Regions from separate parts of the Homo sapiens genome. Here regions 1 and 3 are each linked to region 2. Evidence: promoter capture Hi-C in 16 types of primary human blood cells and fetal thymus (Javierre and others, 2016). All regions are on one chromosome and are shown on one strand. Each heading gives the region's core, a stretch centred on a gene start or on the middle of the fragment in contact. The rest is flanking DNA. Distances are from core to core; before and after follow the strand shown.

Region 1 (2,700 bases), core at 24-2,523, 320 kb before region 2:
ACATTTATGAAGGGGGAGGTTTTGAGTTTTTTTCCTGTTCTTCCTGCCCCATTTGCAAGCTTAGCTCGGATGGCTGTGTGGGTAGATGAGAATTATTAAGTAACAATGTGGGGGAGGTCTGAATTTGAATATGAAAGAACCTGTCATCAGCATCTTGTACAATAAAAACGGTGCTCCCTGTGAGGACCTCTTAGCCTGGAATTTGTAAAATAAGGACTCCCTGGAACAGAACTGTTCAATAGAAATCTCTGCTCTGATTGAAATGTCCTGTATCACTGCCACAGCAGCCACTAGCTACATTCAGCACTTGAAAGTCTGGCTCGTGTGAATTGGGATGTGCAGTGTAAAACATAAACAAGGCTTCAGACTTAGTATGAAAATGCAGCAAAATAGCTCAATTTTGATTACATGTTGAAATGATAAAATTATGGATATACTGGGTCAAATAAAATATATTAAGTGGATCACCTGAGGTCGGGAGTTCAAGACCAGCCTGACCAACATAGTGAAACCCTGTCTCTACTAAAAATACAAAAGTAAGCCGGGCGCGGTGGCTCACACCTGTAATCCCAGCAGTTTGGGAGGCCGAGGCGGGTGGATCACAAGGTCAGGAGATTGAGACCATCCTGGCTAACAACGGTGAAACCCCGTCTCTACTAAAAAATACAAAAAATTAGCTGGGCGTGGTGGCGGGCACCTGTGGTCCCAGCTATTCAGGAGGCTGAGGCAGGAGAATGGCGTGAGCCTGGGAGGCGGAGCTTGCAGTGAGCCGAGATCGTGCCACTGCACTCCAGCCTGGGCGACAGAGCGAGACTCTGTCAAAAAAAGTATCCAGGCATGGTAGTGCACGCCTGTCATCCCAGCTACTCGGGAAGCTGAGGCCGGAGAATCGCTTTAACCTGGGAGGTGGAGGTTGCAGTGAGCCAAGATCGTGCCATTGTACTGCAGCCTGGGCAACAAGAGCAAAACTCTGTCTCAAAAAAAAAAAAATTAATTTCAACTGTTTTTATTTTTTTAATGTGGCTACTAGAAAATTCTTAAATTACATATGTGGCTTGCATCCATTTCTACTGACAGCACTGCCCCAGAACAAGACTTAGGGGGCAGTGGGTAGAGGGAGGAACAACGCCTGCAGCCGTGGGTCTCAGCCTTGGCTGCACATCAGAATCTTACTTTAAAGAGAGCTTTAAAAACATCTCTGTGCCCAAGCCCTACCCCAGACCAATGAAATCATCACTATGTTTTGTTTTGTTTTGTAAAGACAGAGTCTTGCTCTGTCGCTTGGGCTGGAGTACAGTAGCAGGATCTCGGTTCACTGCAACCTCCACCTTCCGGTTCAAACAAGTCTCATGTCTTAGCCTCCCAAGTAGCTGGGATTACAGGTGCATGCCACCACGCCTGGCTAATTTGTTTTTGTTTTTGTTTTTAGTAGAGGTGGGATTTCACCATGTTGGCCAGGCTGGTCTTGAACTCCTGACCTCAGGTGAGCCACCGTGTCCGGCCTCATCAGTATATTTTTAAATGCCAAAAATGATTCCATATGCAGCCAGGTTGCAAAGGGAAATGCCTGACCTTTTGTTGGGGGGGAGAAGGGAGGGTCATCTTTAAAAGCTATGTGATTAGGAAGTAGAGTGACAAGCCAGGAAGTGAAATGACAAGCCAGAAACTAGCAGAAGGGCTTGAACATGTAGCTGAGTCTCCCAAGATTTTTACCCTGGTGGTTGAGAATGCCCAGAGAGTAACCCCATTTTTCTCTGAAACTCCTCAGAATGAGGCTAATGGGAAAACAACTACAGCTACTGCCACAACTCTTTACCCCATTTGTCCAAGTGTCCAGGGTGATCTTGATGACAACTGTCGTAACATCTCCCCGCTGCCACTACCAGATGGGTTTAGATGCAGTAGCAGACATTGTGTGCAATTCAGAGTCGCCCCATAGTGTCTCTGTCAAGTTTGGTTCCAAACAGACTAAGTTCTGCTCTTTTCCTAGCAAGTTAGAAGCCCTAGTACAATGATTCTAAATCCCGCTGCTACATTAGAAACATTTGAAGAGCTTCGTAAACACCAGCAGCCCACCCCCGGGCCTGTGTATGCTATCCAGGGTGAACAATAACCACTGGACCGCTACTGTTGAAGGCAGGTCGTGAGACTCTGAGCCCTGACTCTTGGCAGGACAGGAGGCCCACAATCATGTGGCTTTCATTCCTTTCTGGCTTTAGATTCCATTGTCTTTTAAGTAAAACTTGGGTTCATTAATTTGTTTAAGCAGTGCCCTAGTAGCTACAGAAGCTGATAGTAAAAATCCTAACTATAATGGCAACACATGTGCCAAGCACTGCTTATACATTACATGTATTAACTCTTTATCCTCAAAACAATCTCATGAGGTAGATGGTACCATAATCCATAGTTCCTAGATAGGAAAACTGAGGCACAGAGATTCTAAATTCACTCCAGGTCACAAAACTAGGAGACCACCAAGCTTTGCTGCCTCCAAGTGATTAGACAGCTAGATCTGCTCTGATGACCTAACATTAGAGTCCTTGTACCTTCTGCAGAGATCTTCCTTAGAACAGTGCTTCTCATACAAATGTTGGTACCAACCATCGGAACATCAAGCTCCCAGGTAAGGCGACTGCTGCCAGTCTCTGCATCACATGCTGAGTAGCAAGGTCTTAGGGCTCTCTCCTTCCCATCTTG
Region 2 (2,757 bases), core at 172-2,671:
TCTCATCCCACTGCTCCTTCCTCACCCGCTGTGCTGTGAGTTCTGGCCAATGCTTCCCAAGCCAAATATTGAAGAAATGCAGACGTCCAGTTTTTTGGGAGGGGTGGGACACAGGAGTCTGTTTTTTAACTAGCTCCCCAGAGCACCTGAGCAGCAAATCATGGGCTGTCCTAGCCCCTTTTCAGATGAGAAAGGAGCCCAGAGAGGGGAGAGGGCCTGCCAAGGTGGCACATCTGGCCAGGCGCTGCGTAGGCTGAGCCCTGGGGGTCAGACAGAGGGGCAGCTGCAGGCCCACCTGGGCTTGTGTCTTCCATAGGCCATGCTTGAGAATTCTCTGCTGCGTGAAGCCGGGTCTACCCCGCTGCTTCCCTGCCACCAGGGCTGCCTCGTGGCATCCCATTGCTCAGCCAGTGGCCCAGGATTGTTGACTGAGGGTCCTGTCTGGTCTGGACCAGGCTCGGTCCTATCATCTCCCTGCAGATTGTGCCTCCCTGGCCTGGCCCAGGGGCTCTGGCACCCTGGTTCTGCTGCATGGGGTGACAGTCACTGACCTGCAACCGAGCAAGGGGCAACTCAGGAGAGCCAAGGTTGTCTCCACTCGGTTTCCCCCGAGTGATTCTTCCTTCTATCTCCCTCATTCCCCCAGTGCCGCTCTCCTACCCCATGTCGCTGAAGCAGATGAGTTGGAGCAGGACTCAGGAGGGTACTAGGCCCAGGTTTTAGGCTGAACCTAGGAATGAGTAATGAGAGGAGGCAGATCAGCTGGAGGACCAGCCCGAGTCCCCAGATGTCGGCACAATGCAGGGGAAGGTAGGTGCTGCCCGTGAAAAGCGCTGGGTCGAGAGCTCGCCAGCCTCCCTGCTTGAGGCTTCATTTCCTGGGGTCCTTACACGGTGGGACCGTCTACAGTCGGAGCTGTGGTGGTGATGATTCGTCTCCTACAGGCTGGGGCACGCCCCCTCCCCTTTCCCTCTAGATTCAGATTTGAGTCCCACGGCCCATGGACACGCGATGAATGCCCTGGGGTTGGTTAGCGGGAAAGACAAGTCGACTTGAGGCCATGTCTCGGCTCTGGAGGAAGAAGGCAAACCGGGCAGCCTTCCCAGAAGTGGAGGAGTTTGCGTAGGCCTTCGGTGCGTTCTCGCCTGGGTGGAAGGCGGGGACGTGCATTTGTTGGAGAGCGGTGTCCTGCGCCCTAGGCTGGAAGCCTGGCCTCGGGCAGGGGCCTGGAGCCTCGGGGTTGGAGGTGGGGGGCGGGGCGGGGGGCGGCCCCTACTGGGCGGGCTTCTGTCTGCGCGCCCGCGCCCCCGACAGGCGGCTTATTTGCATGGAGAGCGGCGGCGGCCAATGGGCGCGCGCGGCCGGGCATGCTGGGATCGGGCTGGGCCGGCTGGGCCGTGGCGGCAGGCGGAGAGCGGCTGGACCGGCTCTGGGTGGCCGAGGCGGCAGCTGCGCGGCGGCACCGGGGCGGCTGCGGCGCGCTCGGAGCCCCGAGGGCACGCGGCCCGGGCAGCTCGGTGTGCGCCCCCGCGAGAGCCGGGGCCCCAGGCCCGCCGGACACCATGAACCACCTGGTGAGGGCGCCAGGTGGGGCCGGGCCGCGTACGGGCTTGGAGGCGGCAGCGGGCTGGAAGGGGTTAAGCGAGCGGCATTTCCTGCCGGACCTGCGGGGCCTGGGAACCGCCGGCCGGGGTCCGCGGCCCTGGGATCTCCTTCTGCCCTGGCCGGGAAGCCGGGAGGCAGGAACCGCGGGGGCTCCGGAGCCTGTGCGCCTCGGGTGCGTTGGCGGGGCCGGGCGCGGGGGCCGCCAGCCGGTAGGAGGGTTCCTGTGTCGGGAAAGTGGCTGGCGGGGCCCGCGCTCCCCGGCCGACGGCCGCCTGCTGTGTCACCTTGGGCCTCTGCGCCCTGCCTCCGAGCCTCAGTTTCCTCGGCTGCGAGGAGGGGCCGTTGAGCCTCTGGCGGGTGGTCCGGCTGGTGTGGCGTGGGGACTGCCCACCGGCTCCCGGAGAGGGAGGAGCTCCGGGGGACCGAGGCCGGGCGGGCAAGTGCGTGGCGCCAGCGGGGAAGGCTGCGCAGCCGGAGCACCCGGCTCCAGTTAATGATTCACTCCGGCCGCCGGCGCGGGGTTCCGGGAGCGGAGCGGGAGTGGGGGCGGGCGCGCCGCGGGCTTTGCAGCCCCGCACGCCGAGCGCCGGTGGAAGCCGGGTCCTGGCCACAGGAGTCCTAGCCGCACGCGAGTGTCGCGGGAGGGGGCCAGGGCCGGGTTCTGCAGTGTGGACATGAAGGCTTTGGAGTCCATGGTTGGGGGACCCGCAAGAGCTAGAGCAGGGTCGGAGCTCCCTCTCGAGGGTCCGAGAGGCTGATCGCTGGACCGAGGTGAGGGAGTTGGGAAAGCGGAGATTTGCCTAGGGGTGCGGGGTGAGGGGCTTACGGCCTGGAAGATGTTGGGGTTTCGAGTTCCAGATCGGGGACAGCAGCTCCTTTTCTACCACAAGGCTCCCGTTCCCTCCTGAGAGTCCCTGGTTTCCTTTCCCACACCCCTCCCGGGGCCCGCCGCAGCTTTGGTCACCTTCTCAGAATGACCATGGGTTGATCTCTTCTTTGCTAGTGAGATGTTTCCCATCGCCCTGGGCCGGGACACGCCCCCTCTTGTGCCCATTCCTTTCCCTCGGTGGAGAGTTGGGTGGTGGGGGCTGGCCGGCCTGTGAGAGCAGGTGTCGGGGTGCCTGGAGAATCGGGGCCCAGGTACGGGGGTGG
Region 3 (2,943 bases), core at 328-2,827, 310 kb before region 2:
TTTTTCCTCACCCCTCACTCAATGACCCCATCCTGGTATACTGTAAACCTAAAATAAAATTCTAAGCTCCCAACCATCTGAATGGAACCCTTGTCTCAGCCAAGGGCATTCCAAAGTTAACCTGAAAAACTAGTCTGGCCATCATGGGAAGTGGGGAGTCAGACGTAACTCATTATACCCTCCTCTTTTTGGAATTCAGACCCAGCTGACCAGTATTAGCATCAACACATAGATCTTAAGACTGATATTAATAGAACAGACTCTTAAAGTCTGATAAGAAACATTTACAATCTGTTCTCTCTGAAGCCTGGAGGCTTCATCTGCATGATAAAACATTAGACTCCACAACCCCTTATTGTTTTTTGTTTTTGTTTTTTTTTTGAAATGGAGTCTCACTTTGTCACCCAGGCTGAAGTGCAGTGGTATGATCTCGGCTCACTGCAGCTGCTGCCTCCCGGGTTAAAGCAATTCTCCTGCCTCAGCCTCCCAAGTAGCTGGGATTACAGGTGGACACCGCCAGATGCAGCTAATGTTTTTTTTTTTAATACATATTTTTGGTAGAGACAGGGTTTCACCATGTTGGCCAGGCTGGTCTTGAACTCCTGACCTCAAGTGATCTGCCTGCCTTGGCCTCCCAAAGTGTTGGGATTACAGGCGTGAGCCACTGTGCCCCGCCCACAAACCCACACATTCCTTTCTATTGATTCCAGGTCTTTAGATAATAACCAGTTGACAATTGGAAAAATCTCTGAATCTGCCAATTCTGTGGTCTGGAAGCCCCACCCCACCTCCACTTGTCTCATCTTTCAGTACTGAACCAATGTACATCTTACACGTATTGATTGATGTCTTATGTCTCCCTAAATGTATAAACTCAAGTTATACCCTATCCACCTTGGGCGTATGTCATCAGGACCTCCTGAGGCTGTGTCACAGGCATGTCCTTAACCTTGGCAAAATAAATTTCTACGTTGATTGAGACTTGTCTCAGATACATTTTGGTTTACACTACTGACATGCTGTCATTAGAGTGACTTTTCCAAATCACAAAGCTTATCATGTCTTTCCACTTAAATGTCATTTTACTGACCCTTTAACAAATTTACTTATATTTAAATATTTTGTATTTATTTTTTTAGAGACAAGGTCTCCTTCTGTCTCCCAGCCTGGAGTGCAGTAGTGCATTCATGGCTCACTGCAGCCTCCTGGGCTCAAGCCTTCCTCCTGCCCAGGCCTCCCGAGTAGCTGGACCTACAGGCATGAGCCACTGTGCTCAGCCACTCAGGACCTTTTTGTTGTTGTTGTTGTTGTTTGAGATGGAGTCTCGCTGCCACCCAGGCTGGAGTCCAATGTGTGATCTCCGCTCACTGTAATCTGTGCCTCCCGGGTTCAAGCGATTCTCCTGCCTCAGCCTCCAGAGTAGCTGGGATTACAGGTGCCCATCACCATGCCTGGCTAATTTTTGTATTTTTAGTAGAGATGAGGGTTCACCATGTTGGCCAGGCTGGTCTTGAACCCCTGACCTCAGGTGATCCGCCCACCTTGGCCTCCCAAAGTGTTGGGATTACAGGCGTGAGCCACCGTGCCCAGCCATTCAGGGCCATTTGATGAAGAAATTGGCTGTGGACCATAGATTTTTTTAAAAAGTCCTTCTACCATGTTAGAAATATTGGTTGGGGGTGGTGGCGGGGGGGTGTAGGCATTCAATTAAGCAATAAGCCAGTGATCTTTGGGGAGGACCATATATTCCTGTAAAACTCGCGGCTGAGCTGTACCCAACACAGGGTTAACGAAGTGCATCAGAGCTTTGTAGTAATTCCACTCTATCCGTGGAAGAGCCAGGGGATTTGTGTTTCCGTGTCTGTCTTGCATGGGAGCATAGTGGAAGCAACAGAAAATCTGGGGGCAAAAGCACCTGGCTTTGATCTCAGCCCAGGACCAGGTCCAGGACCACGGCCAGGCTTGTGACTGACTGGACTTCAGTAGGAACCACACTGGGGGTTAACAGATGACACAAAAGCAGGTGTTCGTTCTGTGCGGGAGACGCGCTAGGGGAGAAGAAAAGGCACACACACAGTACCTTTAAGGGTAAGCAAGCTTTATCCCACGTAAATGGCAATGCAGATATTATAATAAGCAAATTAATATAATAAGCAGATTGATATAATAAGCAAATTGCAATGGGAAGAGGAGAAGGAAAAAGACATATATATATATATATTTACACTCACCAGACTATGGAGGATTCACCTCCAGACTGGGAAGCAACGACCTGGGCTCCAGAGCCGGCCACTCGTCAGTGCACAGACGAGGAGAGGTCTCATGAAGCTTTTTGGCGTGGTCTGGGACCCTAGATCTTTTTGTAACATGTTGTCTAGCATGAGGCCCAGTCACGAGGGCCCTTTGCGACTGGGCTCAAGGAACACAAAAAGGTCAACTTGTTTTTGCGATTGTTGTTTTTCAATAACTGACGTATAGGAGTAGACTGAAATAGAGATTTCTCCGAAACAGCGCTGGATGAACGCCTCAAGGGGCTCCCACAACCTGTTTAGGGACTTGGTGACCATTGTTTGTGTCCATGTCAGTTGAAATTTAAATATTTAGTTCTTCCTCCTCAGTGTTCAAGTCAACTTTTATGGGCATCTTATTTTACACAAATGTTAACACAGACAACAGCCACGACTCTGGTCCACGGAAACGTTCTATCGCCGCCCAGCCTTTACGCAAACGTACACAGCTCGAAAAGCTAGGCCGACCGTCCCCGGCAGCGCCACGCCCGCTAACCCCGCCCCCGCCACTGGCTCCTTTCGGTGCGGCCTTGCTATTGGCTCCTTTCTGTGAGCCGTCGGTTGCCGTGGAGACCGAGGCGATGGCAACCAGGAGAAGCCAAACTTGGTCCCCCGGCTCGCGGAGTGCCTGCGAGCGGTGCTCATGGCGCTCTAT

The links. The method cuts DNA at HindIII sites, captures the fragments that hold promoters and counts their contacts. A CHiCAGO score of 5 or more calls a contact.
Region 1: a fragment that was not itself captured here is called in contact with the fragment with the promoter of BCAR1 in region 2 in 1 of 17 cell types (M2 macrophages); the score reaches 5.3 in M2 macrophages.
Region 3: a fragment that was not itself captured here is called in contact with the fragment with the promoter of BCAR1 in region 2 in 1 of 17 cell types (M2 macrophages); the score reaches 6.2 in M2 macrophages.

What each region holds. Positions count from the first base shown.
Region 1 is chr16:75,573,590-75,576,289 of GRCh38, reverse strand. All of the region lies in intron 3 of GABARAPL2 (GABA type A receptor associated protein like 2), which reads right to left. Among named protein-coding and RNA genes, the nearest start is that of GABARAPL2, 8.6 kb to the right of the region's middle. The HindIII fragment of the contact is 2,423 bases long and covers 62-2,484 here.
Region 2 is chr16:75,250,288-75,253,044 of GRCh38, reverse strand. BCAR1 (BCAR1 scaffold protein, Cas family member) reads left to right here and starts at 1,421. Exons shown (of 7, transcript NM_014567.5): 1 at 1,421-1,574. The coding sequence starts at 1,563. RefSeq lists enhancers at 1-128, 669-1,209 and silencers at 1,209-1,318, 1,379-1,538. The HindIII fragment of the contact is 27,287 bases long and covers 1-2,757 here.
Region 3 is chr16:75,556,198-75,559,140 of GRCh38, reverse strand. TMEM231 (transmembrane protein 231) reads left to right here and starts at 2,889. Exons shown (of 7, transcript NM_001077418.3): 1 at 2,889-2,943. The coding sequence starts at 2,932. RefSeq lists enhancers at 2,459-2,568, 2,599-2,678 and a silencer at 2,719-2,828. The HindIII fragment of the contact is 1,045 bases long and covers 1,055-2,099 here.